Regions from separate parts of the Homo sapiens genome. Here region 2 is linked to region 1. The links are contacts of gene promoters, found by promoter capture Hi-C in blood cells and fetal thymus (Javierre and others, 2016). All regions are on one chromosome and are shown on one strand. The core of a region is centred on a gene start or on the middle of the fragment in contact, and the rest is flanking DNA. Distances in the headings are between cores, read along the strand shown. Region 1 holds the start of LCMT1 (leucine carboxyl methyltransferase 1). Region 2 holds the start of UBFD1 (ubiquitin family domain containing 1).

Region 1 (6,865 bases), core at 1,650-4,149:
CAGGCTGGAGTACAATAGCGCAATCTCGGCTCACCACAACCCCTGCCTTCAGGGTTCAGGCAATTCTCCTGCCTCAGCCTCCGGAGTAGCTGGGATTACAGGCATGCGCCATCATGCCTGGCTAATTTTTATTTTTAGTAGAGATGGGGTTTCACCATGTTGGTCAGGCTGGTCTCGAACTTCTGACCTCAGGTGATCCACTTGCCCCGGCCTCCCAAAGTACTGGGATTACAGGCATGAGCCACCATGCCAGCTTTTTGTTTGTTTTTTGAGACGGAGTTTTGCTCTTGTCCCCTAAGCTGGAGTTCAATGGCACGATCTCAGCTCACTGCAACCTCCACCTCCCGGGTTCAAGTGATTCTCCTGCCTCAACCTCCCTAGTAGCTGAGATTATAGGCGCCTGCCACCATGCCTGGCTAATTTTTGTATTTTTAGTAGAGACGAGGTTTCACCATGTTGGCCAGGCTGATCTCAAACTCTTGACCTCAGGTGATCCACCCACCTCGGACTCCCAAAGTGCTGGGATTACAGGTGTGAGCCACCGCGCCCAGCCCACTCTAGCTATTTTTTATAGAAGAAAGAGATACTGGAGAGCCAAAGCAACAATTGTCCATTGTAGCCTTTTGGGGAGAGATTCCATGGTGAATGCCTAACTTTTGGCCCACAATATTAATGTCCAAGAGCTTTTACACTTCCACAACTCTTCTCCTGACTTTGTCAAAAGATGCAGTCTAGTTGGCAGTGAACTTTCTCTGGCTGGGATATGGCTCAAAGACTACCCCAGCATTGTCTCTTGCATTAAGGTATCATTTAGCCTGAGATGGCTAAGCTTGCAATCTCCAGACTCCACGCTGTCATAAACTTTCAGATCCTCAACCAGGAACTTACATGGAATGAGCTGGCCCTGGAGGTCAGCTGGAAGATGGCCAAATTCCTCTGAATCACCAGCTATTTTGAATCAAAGGCTCATCCAACAACAAAAGTGTATAAACCCATCTGCCTCCGCCTTCTTCCAGTCACCCCCAGTCTCACTGTCCAGACCTGTGGGATTAACACCGTATAGTACTTGCTGTTAACACTTACTATCCACTAACACCCGTGGAATGTGGACACTGCTAAGCTGGGAGATGATGCTTGTGCAATAGTTTGTATTACCCTTTTGGCAAAGGACCACTCCAAGAAAATGGTGTATTTCATCCCATCAGCATTCCCCCTGGCAAAGCTCTCCACCCTTAGTCATTCCCCTCTTGTCATTTCTACTGTGGCTATCAATGAGATCTTGTGCCTCCATTAGAATACTGAGCTAGCATTTGATATTTGACCTCACTCCAAGGTGTGTATTCTGGGTTTCTGTTGTTGATTTTCTTTTTAAAAAAATGAGTGCAATTCAAAGTTCTTAAAGTATATCTGTTTCCTGCTTCCAACAACTGACAGATAACAAAATGGAATATACAAAGACATTTTTAATTTATAATGTATATTAAACATTATTATACATATACAACTTACAAGGGTTGCTTCTGGCTGGATTCTCTGCCAATCGCCCGAACACTGAGGATTCTGCTAGTTGTTCTGCCCTGAGTTAATTATAGCTATAAAATTTCATCACCAGCAAGAAACCAGGCGACTTCCCCAGTACATCTTGAATTTATACATATATTTTGTACTAGATTTAGTACAAAATAAATCCAAAACATCTTGAATATGCCTCATAATGAAACAGACACACGTGAACCCACTCCCACGTGAGAAACTGAGGATGTGTCTATGTGCTCCTTCCCTGCCTCTCCCTCCCCCTCTTGTGTGCTACCCTCCCGGCTCCCTAAAGATCACCAATATCCTGATTCTTTTTTATTTTTTTTTCTCATGTCTTGCCTTCTCTGTACAGTATTTTACCATATATGTACGTTTCTCTAAACAACATTAGTTTTACTTGGTTTGAACTTTACAAAAGTGTTGTTAGACTTCCTTCTTTCACTGAACATCGTGTTTCTGAGATTCAGCCATTGATGCTGCTACCTGGTAGCTCTAGTTCATTTATGATCGCTGCTACATGGCTTCCTATTGTATTACTTTTCCACACACTACTTCCCTCACTACATTTCTTTTCTTTCTTTCTTTTATTTATTTGTTTATTTATTTTTTTGAGACGGAGTCTCGCTCTGTCGCTCAGGACGGAATGCAGTGGCGCCACATGGGCTTACTGCAACCTCCGCCTCCCGGGTTCAAGCGATTCTCCTGCCTCAGCCTCCTGAGTAGCCAGGACTAAGGCGGCCGCCACCACGCCCGGCTAATTTTTGTACTTTTAGTAACAACGGTGTTTCACCATGTTGGCCAGGCTGGTCTCGAACTCCTGACCTCAGGTGATCGGCCCGCCTCGGCTTCCCACAGTGGTGGGATTACAGGAGTGAGCCACTACGCCCGCCCCCCTCACTACATTTCGAAGGCAATTTTGGGGGCAAAGCCCTCAGCACAGTCGCTGGCAGAGTCAGCACACAACAAAATTTTGTAAAATTGAATGACACTGAGCCCGGACTGAATGTAACAACTTACACATGTTGCTTCTGGCTGGATTCTCTGCCCTTTGCCCGAACGCTGAGGATTCTGCTAGCTGTTCCGCCCTGAGTTAATTATAGCTATAAAATTTCGCGACCAGCAAGCAGAAACCGGGCGACTTCTCCAGACACCTAAGACTACGCTTCCCAGAAAGGATTGCGATACTCTCCTACTGTTTAGTTTCTTTTTCCTATCGTCAAATTTCCGGGTTATGTGGGCGGTGCCAAAATAATTATCCAATGAGCAACTTCGTAGGCTGAGCGGGCAGGAGAATTGCTCAATGAGCGACTCGGAAGAGGAGCCAATAAGCGGAGAGGTTGCTGGGGTAGCCGGCGTGGGCGGCGTCACTGAGCCGCGCCAGCTGAGCCAGGTAGGGCCCTACCCTCTTCTGTTGCTTTCTCCCTGTGGCTCGCGCCGTCCCCCGCCGCCCGTCGACCCCGCTTCCATGTCCCTGGCGGACACAGCTCCCAGGAACCTCCACGCCCATGGCCACTAGGCAGAGGGAATCCTCTATCACCTCCTGCTGTTCCACCTCGAGCTGCGACGCAGACGACGAGGGCGTGCGCGGCACCTGCGAAGATGCTTCCCTGTGCAAGAGGTGCCTGTCGGGCGCGGGGTTCGGGGCCGGCATCTGGGGCGCGGGCCTAGGTGGGAGGTGGGCCTGCATCTGAAGAATACGCTCAAGGCTGGCAGGGATGCAGCCCCCGCCTCGCACGACCCTCGCTTCCCACCTGTGAAGTGCACGGAGCAGGGCTTCATTTATTTAACGAATCGTTTCTGAGCTTTTGCTGTGAGCCAGGCAGGGGGCCAGCCTGGGTATCGTCGATGGGAGCAGGCCCCTGAGCCAGACAGACGAGGCCTTGGGCTTCTTGGAGCTAAACGCTGCTGGAAAGACAGACATGAAGCAAATAGTAGCTCCAGCCTCGATGGGTTACGAGGATGAGAGGTGTAGGTTCTCTCTCTTTTGTAGGTTGCATTCTTTAGGGGGTTGGTGTGATCCCTGTTGTGCACCTGAAACTCAGGATGACGAGGGGAAATAACCCACCCAGAGCCAAGTAATATCTCTTTGCAGAGCCAGTACCGCACTAAGTCTCCACTGTTAAGGGTGTGGTGGTGGGGATGGGGGCGTAGCCAGCAGAGGTACGTGTCAGAGAAAGAGAAAGCTTGAGGCTTGAATGTCCACCATTTATTCTTTCATTCAACAAAATTTTTTGAGACCTTACTTTGTGCCAGGCCTTTACTTTGCAGTGGTTAGTAGGAATTCGATGGTGGAAATACACCAAGAACAAGACAGACATGGTGTCAGACATACTGGAACTCACAGCTTTGTTGGAAAAGAGAGACAGGAAGCAAATAATTACCTATGAAATATATAATTATGATTTTTTTGTGTTGAGTGCTGACAAATACGGCAGTGCCATTAGAGTTTGTAATTTTGTCAGTGATGTTTAAGGTGAGAAGAGTTTGGGCGCGGTGGTTCACGCCTGTAATCCCAGCACTTTGGGAGGCCGAGGTGGGCAGATCACGAGGTCAGGAGTTCGAGACCATCCTGGCCAACATGGTGAAACCCCATCTCTACTAAAAATACAAATATTAGCTGGGTGTGGTGGCGGGCGCCTGTAATCCCAGCTACTCGGGAGGCTGAGGCCGGAGAATCATTTGAACCCGGGAGGCAGAGGTTGCAGTGAGCCAAGATCACGCTATTGCACTCCAACCTGGATGAGAGTGCGAGACTATGTCTCAAAAAAAAAAAAAAAAAAAAGTGAGAAGAAAAGGCTTGAAAAATAGGAAAGTTGTAGGAGAGTGTTCAGAGGAGTGTGAACTGTTAGAGGAACTCAAAAAATGCTTTAAAGGTGGGAGAAGGAGGCTGAGGCCACGTAGTGATTGTAGAGTGGGGAAAACCAGTGTGTTGGATTAAACCTTGCACTTTTTATAGGTTCTTGGGGACTAAACTTTCAGAGCATGGATTCTGGAGCTAGACTCTGTCAAACTGAGCGTTGCCACTTACTGGCAGTATAAAGTCGGGGAAATTACTAAACTTTTCTGTGGCTCAGTTTCCTGATCTGTAAAATGGGGAGTATAATAACGCATCATAGGTGGGTGTGGACAAAAATGATATTTAATATTAGTAGAGCACTTGGAGCAGTGTCTGGCATGTAGTCCATGTAAGTGGTGATTGATTAAATTAATAAATACACAAGTATTAAAGTCTTAGAGAGAGTCCCTTATGAAATTTGTGAATTTGAGTGGATTATACTCAGCTTTTTCTTCTGTGGCTTTCAGTTGCTATTGGCCACAGCTGTCTTGGCTCCTGGTAACTTCCACCTGCCGGGTTCAAGTGATTCTCCTGCCTCAACCTTCCAAGTAGCTGGGATCACAGGCACACACCACCATGCCCAGCTAATTTTTGCATTTTTAGTGGAGACAGGGCTTCACCACGTTGGCCAGGCTAGTTTCGAACTCCTGAACTCAAGTGATCCGCTCGCCTTGGTCTCCCAAAGTGCTGGGATTACAGGCATGAGCCACCCCACCCAGCCTAGTCTTTTCATTTTTAAAACAGTGATAATAAAGGTAACCTTTATGGGTGTCAGGATTAAATGAGATTATCGATGCAGAGGATCTGACACAAAGTGAAGCCCTCAGTAAATTATTATTGCTAGTTTTGACTTCCCTCCAGGCTGAATATTGTTTAGTTAAAGTTGCTGAATGTGCAGTAGCTATGAGTTAGGGTGGTTCCTGCTGCCCTGAGTGAGTTATGGCTATAAAATAAAAAGCCAGTCAGCCTTCTGGGTACCTGTAAATCTTTTACTTCTGTTTAGTTTGCTTCTTCCTTTGGTATAGAGTCCTTCTGCGGATAAGTAGGATGTTATCTGTCTCAGAGGATTGCTGTGCAGGTGAAATGTGGAGTGCTTGCAGCAGTGCTTGGCATACTGGAGGTGTTCAGAATTGGTAGTTAACAGTCATCACCACCCCCCTCATTGTCATCAAATCATTATCATCATTGTGATCCTGGACTTGTGGTATCAGAAGTTTTCTGGTTGGATATATTAGGTTTACACTAACTCCATTTGACTCAATAGGTATCAATTGAGCACTTTTCATGGTAGCCCACTCTCCTTCCCTTCTCTGCTCTCCTTATGATGTCCATCATGCTATGCCACTGAGTCTGTTCTCCCCTCTTTTGTTTACCTGTGACCCAACCATCCCACCAACCCCTCACTATGTCCTCTGCAGTTACCACCTGATAATCAACATCAGCTTCTATTTTGTTAGCCTCTCCTTAGCCATTCCCTCCCTCCCTTTGCCTTCACCCTGACCTTTCCTCAGGGATATCCTGTTCTTGAAGCCCTCTCCCGTGGCTCCTCCTCCTTCTCATGCCCTGTGTATCTCAGGATCAGGGATTTGAGCTTTGTGTCCTCCTGTGTGTCTCCCGCGTCTCATTCCATGGAGAGCCTTCCTGCCCAACTGGAGCCCTCCTGATTGCTGTTGTTCAGCTCTCCTGATCATTCACCTCATTCATGGAAGACTGGGGTGCCTGGCCCAGAGTGTCCTCTACCTCAGTTCATGACTTCACCTTAGGTGACCTCAGCATCCACATGGAGCCTATGCACGAGGCACTCACTTTCTTGAACACCTGGTCTGCAGTGATCACCTCTTCCTATCTGATTCTGTCACCCATTCCCACCGTGACACCCTGTGCTTTTATCCTGATGCTGCACTGCCTCACAGATGAGAGTGCAACACTCTCCAGCTCTGACCCCTTTTTTCCAAGTTGCTTGACCAGTTATTTTCTATTTCCCATGCTGTGCCCATTTCTTCTTAGCACCTCAGTGGTTCTCTCTGTCTTTTAGATGTTCCCTCTGCTGTTACCTCTTAATTGATTACTTAGAGTTCATCCTTCATCCCTCGGTAATTCTGTTGACAGTGCATTTATCTTCCTTGCCCTTTGGTCTTAGTAGACCCAAAATGCTGGTTTAACCAAACTATCCATTTTTGCCTTGAATACAGGTGCTAGAAATCACACAGTAGGGTGGCTTGGTGCCGCTACGATCATGTCAGCCAACCTCAACTGTGCCCTTAACAGAACCTGACTATCCTAGTTTGTTTCTCAGATCAACTCACTCTCCCTTTCTCCGGATACTTAATTCAGACATTTTCCCCTTTCTTCAGACTTCTGATTTACCCCACTCCTTTTTCATTCTCAAGATAATATCAGCTATTGCTCAACATGGAAAATGGGAACCCTTAGAATGAAACTCCCTTAACCTCCCCCAGAAACTTTGTTTGTTTTGTTTTGAGAGGGAGTTTG
Region 2 (7,292 bases), core at 2,468-4,967, 1.6 Mb before region 1:
CACTAGAATGCAGACTTCCACAGAGCAAGGCCCCTACCTTTCTCAATGATCACTGTATCCCAGCGTCTACAACACCTGTTACACAGGTTGTCATCAATGCACATGTATGGAATGCATGAAAAAAAGATCGAAAGAGATGGGATGGCACAAAAAACACAAGAAACTCCTGGCAATTTGAATTATTTCCGCTCCTGCACCTCAGTTTCCGCCTCTGTAAAATGGGCTCGCGCTGCCTTAACCCTCCTCCGCCCGCCCACTCTGACACCACCGGAAAGGATTCATTCGGGAACATTCGTGGGGCGGAGACGGGACAGGGGGCCTCGGCCTGTAGCGTCACGTCCGCCAGGGTTACCTGTGGGGCTGGGAGCGAACCGCACTCGCACCGCAACCCCGGCATCAGTGCCCAGGTTGGCCTCGCGCCGTCCTACGGGGCGGCCAGAGGCCGCCGAAGGCCTCTCGCGCTGCAGCAGTCTCCTCAGGAGCGCCGCCATGTGGGATGGAATAGCACACGTGGGCTTCTCCCTGCGTCACTTCCGGGGACTGCTTCCAGCCAATCGGCCTCCGCCACAGCCAGCGCAGCCTTGCCCCTTAAAGTCACAGGCCCCCTAGCGCGAAATCCCACGCCCCCCTGGACGGCTGCGGCCGCACTCGCCACCAGGGGGCAGAGGCCAGAGAAAGGGCTATTTCCCGGACCCGCCCCCTTCAGCTTGGGAAAGCGAAAGCGTGGCAGGGGCCGGACCTGGGAGCGGAGGAGGCGGGTCTCCATAGAAACCTCCACCTGTTTCCGGCCGGGCTGTGAGAGATTAGGGGCTGCTGCGGGGGCCAATCTCAGCCAGCTCGCCTCTTCCCAGCGGCCTCTGCGGGAGCGGTGGGTGTTGTACACAATCATCATGGCGGCGGCCGGGGCCCCGGATGGTGAGTGCGGCGGGGGTGGCGGGCGCCGGGCCGGGGCTGAGGTTGCGGTCGCTCCTCTGGGGGATGCGGCCCGGCCCGGGAGGGAGAACCGCGGCTCGGGAACGGAGGTCCGGCGGCGCCCGGACAGCGTCCGTTCCCAAGCCCAGCCCGCGGCGAGCGCCCACCCCCTAACCCCCTTGCAGGCATGGAGGAACCTGGCATGGACACGGAGGCCGAGACTGTGGCTACTGAGGCTCCCGCGCGGCCCGTCAACTGCCTGGAGGCTGAAGCCGCGGCGGGGGCGGCGGCCGAGGACTCCGGCGCCGCACGAGGCAGCCTGCAGCCGGCCCCGGCCCAGCCCCCTGGGGACCCCGCAGCCCAGGCCTCGGTCAGCAACGGCGAAGACGCGGGCGGCGGCGCGGGCAGGGAGCTGGTGGACTTGAAGATCATCTGGAATAAGACCAAGCATGACGTGAAGTTCCCCCTGGACAGCACAGGCTCCGAGCTGAAACAGAAGATCCACTCGATTACAGGTAATTCCTGTGGCGCTGACAGCCAGTCTTCCCCACCCCGCCTCCTGATGGCCCTTGCACCCTACTAGGCACCTGGTGGCTTTCCTTGCATCAGGTCCCCCCATCCTTACAGCAGTCTTCTGAAGGATACTTGGATGCCCATTACTCAGCTGGGGAAAGAGACTCAAGTTTATAGAGCTAGTAAGTTGCAGAGCTGGGATTAAAGCCGAAGTCTGACGTTTAGGCCCCAGTTTCTCATTGATGTTGCTCTAACATCTCTAATTAAAAAATCACCTAAGGCGCTTGTTTTACAGCTTCTGGGCCCTTTCCCAGGAGATTCTGATTCAGTGGGTCTGGGATGTAGCCAGGAATTTATTTTTAGCAAATATCTTAGGTAATTCTTCTAAGTGAAGTTTAGGAAACGCTGCTATTGACTTTGATGCTGGTTCTTCACAGTCGATTCTGTTTCTTAATTTTACCTTGTTCATAGCTCTTTGCCATCTGAGATTTCTTTTCTTTTTCCTATTTTTTTTTTTTTTTGAGACGGAGTCTTGCTCTGTTGCCCAGGCTGGAGTGTACTGGCACCATCTTGGCTCACTGCAGCCTCCGCCTCCCAGGTTCAAGCGATTCTCCTGCCTCAGCCTCCCGAGTAGCTGGGATTACAGGTGCCCGCTACCCCGCCGGGCTAGTTTTTTTTATTTTATCCACCCACCTCGGCCTCCCGAAGTGCTGGGATTACAGGCATAAGCCATCACTCCTGGCCTTGAACTTTTTTTTTTTTTTAAAGCTTTCTACATGTAGCCTTGTAATCTCCATTAAGAACAGGAGTTTTGTCCCTATTGGCTTCTGTAGCTCTGATGCCTGTGGATTCTCACTTAATATGTGAATGATTTAGATGACTGAGGAACAACTTGGAAAGAATGAGAGCTAGTACTTACTGAACAATTATTCAATGCTAGCCACCGTACTAAATGCCCCGCATTGGTCTCTTAATCCTTGAAACAGGTCTGTACAGAAGGACTTACTCTAATAAATCTTCTACAGTTCTAGAAACTGAGGTTCAGAGGTTGTAAATCTCCCAAGTTCACAAAGCTAATAGGTGGTGGAGGCAGTATTCACTTTTTGGTCTGTTACCAAAGAGCTGTGTAGTATCCATACATTTTTCTGTCCTTCCTTCCTTTCACTGTCCACCTTCTACCTTTTCCCAAGGTCTCCCGCCTGCCATGCAGAAAGTCATGTATAAGGGACTCGTCCCCGAGGATAAAACATTGAGAGAAATAAAAGTGACCAGTGGGGCCAAGATCATGGTGGTTGGCTCCACCATCAATGATGTTTTAGCAGTAAACACACCCAAAGATGCTGCGCAGCAGGATGCAAAGGCCGAAGAGAACAAGAAGGAGCCTCTCTGCAGGCAGAAAGTGAGTCCATCTTGTGCTTCTTGGTCTTGAGAAATTTGAGGCTTTGTCCTCTTGAGCCGTGGCTGGTTATATTCTCCCTAGAATAAGCTCCTTTTTGGACAGGGCCCATGATGGAAATTTATGGCAGCAGTTGGGTGCCGCAGAGTGGAGGTGACAACTACCTGAGATTTGCAACTTTGTCTCATCTGGCGGGTCAGTGTGTCTCAAGTCTACCTACTTTAGGATAAGACCTTGGTAAAGGGAGGCTTCAGACCATGTGTTGAAAGGAATCAGACGTGGGTTTCTCTCTCTTATTTAGTGCCAGAGAAAACTACCAGTACTAGAAGTAAGCCCTCATTTTGTACAAGTGCTTACATTTGGCTTTTTGGTTTGTGGCTTTCCCCAAGTCAACAAGCCTGGCTAGGCATGGAAATCAACAACTCTCGGAGGTTCCCCTAAAGCTGACCGTTTCAGGAAGCTAAATGAAGCTGAGTAGGAAGACAACTACACTGATGGATTTGTTTATTTATTTTTTTGTCCTGATCTGTGAAATAGGAGCTTGGTTTTTTACGTTCTCTGTTCTTTTGGCTGCAAGAGATCCTGCCTTGTCTTGTGCTCATCATAGCCATTAACATTCTTTCACGTAACGAGGAAAAGTGAGATTATTTTACTATGGAAGGAACAGGTTGTAAGAATCATTACTTGTTATCTTTTTACCTGGCAAATTATACTGATTGCTGTGTAGCCTCCTGATCGTTCTTCCTAGTGTTCCAAGGAAGACAGGTATTCTCAACTGTGTCTGAAGTAGAGTAGATAAACTTCAATCAACATCATTTAGTGACCATAGACACTAAGATATATGACCAACAGTAAGAAAAGGACACAGTTTGTGTTACAGATCCATAATCCCCCATGTGTGCTTCCAAAACCCCAAAGGAGTATAAAAACGAGAAGTGTTTTTATAAATTTAACAGCAAAACCTGACCAGAATTAGTGTGAATTTTCCTCTTTGGTGACAAGGTACTGCCCCAGACCCCACAGAGAAGATTGTTATGTATTTGAAAGCAATATTATCTTTATAAAAATTCCAAAACCCTGAAAGTTCAAAACTCTAGGGTTTCAGATAAGGGGTTATAAACCTATATTAATTATCTAAAAGGTGTTGATTTGGAGACTTCACCCCCACATATGGGGTCTCAGTGTCTTGAAACCGATTGAGTTTCTTCTCATATTCCTGTTTTTCTTTGCCACATGTATGAAATAGTGAAATGTGAGCACGTCAGATAGGAGTGGTCGCAATGGTCACACCCTTGGAGCATAACATGCCTCCTAAATACAGGTTTTTAGTTACTAATGGTAGCTTAACAGGCTTAGAACTGTTCTCCACAGTACAGGAAATCTTGTTCAAAAGGTACTTGAAAGGTGTGACTCGAATTGTACTTCCAGCCCATGCTGCTGTGTTTCATTGAGGCCAATTATGATGCATCACATGACCTAATGAGAGGGATATAGTCCCTTGCCTTTTTACCAGCTTATTAAGGGGTCTGGGGGTGATGTCTGGAGTGACTTTTTGCTAGCAGTCTGGCAGTGCTGAGTTTATTCCTCCCAGAGGGATTCCACCATGCCAGTGAGGATTTGGGCTGGCTTGTGGCTGCCTAGTGCTTACATTTGATTAAATTGTTACCTTCTATCCATTCATTGTCCCCTAGTTCCAGCCTTCCAAGCAGTGGCTATGCCTATAAGGCCACAGATGGAGAAGAAAGAAGACTCAGGCATTTGGGCCAGGCAGGAGAACTGTTTAAGGGGCCCTGAACTTAGAATCCTTGAAGAGCTGCCTCAGAGTTCTTGGGGCAGGTGGTAGGGGTGGAGTTTAGAGGCTTCTTAATGTCAGGTTATAGAGTAATAAGCATTTCTTTCTGAAAGGTGGCTCTTCCAGGTTCCTGTTTAGCTGGAGTTAAGGGTAGGGCAGTGGGGAAAACTTCGGCGATGGGCTGGGTCTCCATTTGTTGAAGAACTGCTCCTCCTAGGCAGTTAGACGGATTACCAGCATCTTATAGTGTTCTCTGGAAGTTTAAGTTGAAAAAGGTGGGTGCCATTTTTTGTCTGCTAGGAGAGCAACACCCTTTGTCGCCCTCTTTAGTTTGATGGTTTAATCATTTCAGTGGTGATTTTTTTTTTTTTTTTTGAGGGGAGGAGGGCAATCTGGAAATCCCGTTTGCTGTAGAACTTTGATATCTAATATGGTAGCTATCCACATGTGGCTGGTTAAAATGAAATTAAGAATTCAGTTCCTCAGTCATAGTAGCTGCATTTCAAGTGTGTAATAGTCACAGCAGTAGGTAGTGGCTAGCACAGGTACGAACATATTCGCCCTCCCAGAAAGTTCTGCTGGACAGCACTGTGCTATAGTTTCAAAGGATCCATAGTCTGTCGTCATTAAAAGCTTTTGAGCCAAAACACTAAGGCTTTCTTCATCCTCTCTTTCAAGGGAATAGTAACACGACGAAATGTAGTCAGCTGTTTCATTTCATTCTCTCTTCTGACTTATAGCAACACAGGAAAGTGTTGGATAAAGGAAAACCTGAAGATGTGATGCCATCTGTTAAGGGGGCCCAGGTAAGGCGGATTTCTTTGTGAGCATTCTGAAAATGAGGCAGCCCCACCGTCTGACTTGAGGTTCCTCCAATCCTGTCCCTTCTCTTTTTTCCCTGTTTTTTTTTTTTTGAGACAGAGTCTTGCTCTGTCACCCAGGCTGGGGTGTGCCACCACACCTGGCTAATTTTTGTATTTTTAGTAGAGACGGGGTTTTACCATGTTGCCCAGGCTAGTCTCCAACTCCTGACCTCAGGTGATCTGACCGCTTTGGCCTCCCAGTGTGCTGGGATTACAGGCGTGAGCCACCGCGCTTGGCCCCCTTCTCTTTTTTTCTGACTGTCCCTCCATCTCTTACCATTCTCTCGTGCCTTCAGGAGCGCCTGCCAACGGTACCGCTGTCCGGCATGTACAATAAATCTGGAGGAAAAGTGAGACTCACCTTTAAACTAGAACAAGACCAGCTGTGGATTGGCACTAAAGGTATGTTCTTCCTCGCCTCCTTGCTGGCCCACTGCCTGCCTCTGGCACCCAGCAGCACTCACATTTTAGAGTGCGATTTCACCCCTCCTTCTGAAACCTCTCTCTCCACTGTGCTTTGCTTGCTTCTGGCTTTTAAATTTGCTTTTAGATGCTCGCCTTTTGTTTGGACCGTTTTCCCTCATTGTTTTCAGTCTGATCTTAGGGCTGATCCACCAAACAGTGGCTCTTCAGTTGCACACAGATTTGGGGGTCCCAAACACGTGGCCCAAGGGCCAAATCTGGTCCACAGAAAAATGTTTTGTGGGATGACACACAATCTGTAAAAATTGGGAGATTTCACTAATCTGATTTTTTTTTTTTTTTTGGCTTCTCTTGAAAACTCAAATGATCTGGCCCTTTGGGGCCTGCATTCTCACATGGCATCGATCCACTAGAGCCGAGTGGTGGTTTCCAGTGGGCCATACTACAGTCTTCATGGTCCCATTTATCTTAGAAGTAGCCAGCTTTGTTCATTTGTCACCTGCCTGGCCCCTGTAGGTCAGAGTTTGACCCTATAGTAGGTGAAGTTTTCCTAACCGCTGCCGAGGAATCTGCCTCTCCCTCCCCGCCTGGTTGCCCTCTGCCTGCCCCACCCCCGCCTGTGCACGGTGTCTGGATCAGCCTTGCTGTTTGCTGGGAAGTGTCTCTGACTGTCCTCCCTCTCCCTTCCCCCAGATGGTTACAAAGTCTTGTTAGTTACACTGCAGAACTGTCTGTCCCTTTCTTTGCCACACTGTTGTGCCAGTTAAAGTTCCCAAGCATCTTTAAACTTGGTCTGTTCAAAGCGAGTTACCCTGTTTCACTGCCCCATCTGTGTTTTCTTCTGTCCTGTCCATCTTACCTACTGCTTTTTATCCTGGGTACCCGTGCTCAAGGACCTTTGGCTGTTTAAGGACACATTCAAATGCCTAACCATAGCGTTCAGTGTTCTCAACACTGGGCCTTAGTTTAAATTTTGGTTCCAGCTTCTGGCCCGTTTGCCCTGTGGTCCCCTGTGTATTTTAGCCGCATCTCTCTGTGAAGCTCCCAGTGTGCTTTGCACAGCTCCTTGTCTTTGCTCATGCTGTGCCCTTACCTGGAATGCCTTTTTCCCATTCCTTGTTATTAATAAAATCTTCCAAGGCCCTACTTAAATGTCCTCTCTGAATGAAGCCTTCCTTGATTCTCCCCCCACCCTCCAAATGACTTGCTGCCGCTTCTGTTCATAGAGCGCTTCGTTTATATCCCCAGAGCACTCATTACTCTCTGACTTGTCTGTCCCCCTGTTAGATTCCTGGAGGGAACCGAACATGCCTAAATCACCTGTTTCTGACCAGCACTGTAGGTATTCAGTGTTCGAGGTAAATGCTAAAGAGAAGTATAGGGGGTCCCATCA

The links. Contacts are between HindIII fragments. The CHiCAGO score rates a contact against its expected background, and 5 or more counts as called.
Region 2: a contact is called between a fragment that was not itself captured here and the fragment with the promoter of LCMT1 in region 1, in 1 of 17 cell types (naive CD8 T cells). The highest score is 6.0, in naive CD8 T cells.

Annotation. Positions count from the first base shown.
Region 1 is chr16:25,108,843-25,115,707 of GRCh38, forward strand. It overlaps LCMT1 (leucine carboxyl methyltransferase 1), which reads left to right and starts at 2,900. Exons shown (of 11, transcript NM_016309.3): 1 at 2,900-3,154. The coding sequence starts at 3,042. It overlaps LCMT1-AS1 (LCMT1 antisense RNA 1), which reads right to left and starts at 2,713. Exons shown (of 3, transcript NR_120306.1): 1 at 2,554-2,713. RefSeq lists enhancers at 2,323-2,850, 2,628-2,957, 3,048-3,207. The HindIII fragment of the contact is 2,890 bases long and covers 828-3,717 here.
Region 2 is chr16:23,556,853-23,564,144 of GRCh38, forward strand. UBFD1 (ubiquitin family domain containing 1) reads left to right here and starts at 875. Exons shown (of 7, transcript NM_019116.3): 1 at 875-915; 2 at 1,098-1,427; 3 at 2,616-2,824; 4 at 5,354-5,419; 5 at 5,773-5,878. The coding sequence starts at 891. EARS2 (glutamyl-tRNA synthetase 2, mitochondrial) reads right to left here and starts at 498. Exons shown (of 9, transcript NM_001083614.2): 1 at 353-498. The coding sequence starts at 491. RefSeq lists enhancers at 188-467, 472-1,116, 658-857, 1,117-1,760 and silencers at 928-1,017, 1,118-1,297. The HindIII fragment of the contact is 3,053 bases long and covers 2,192-5,244 here.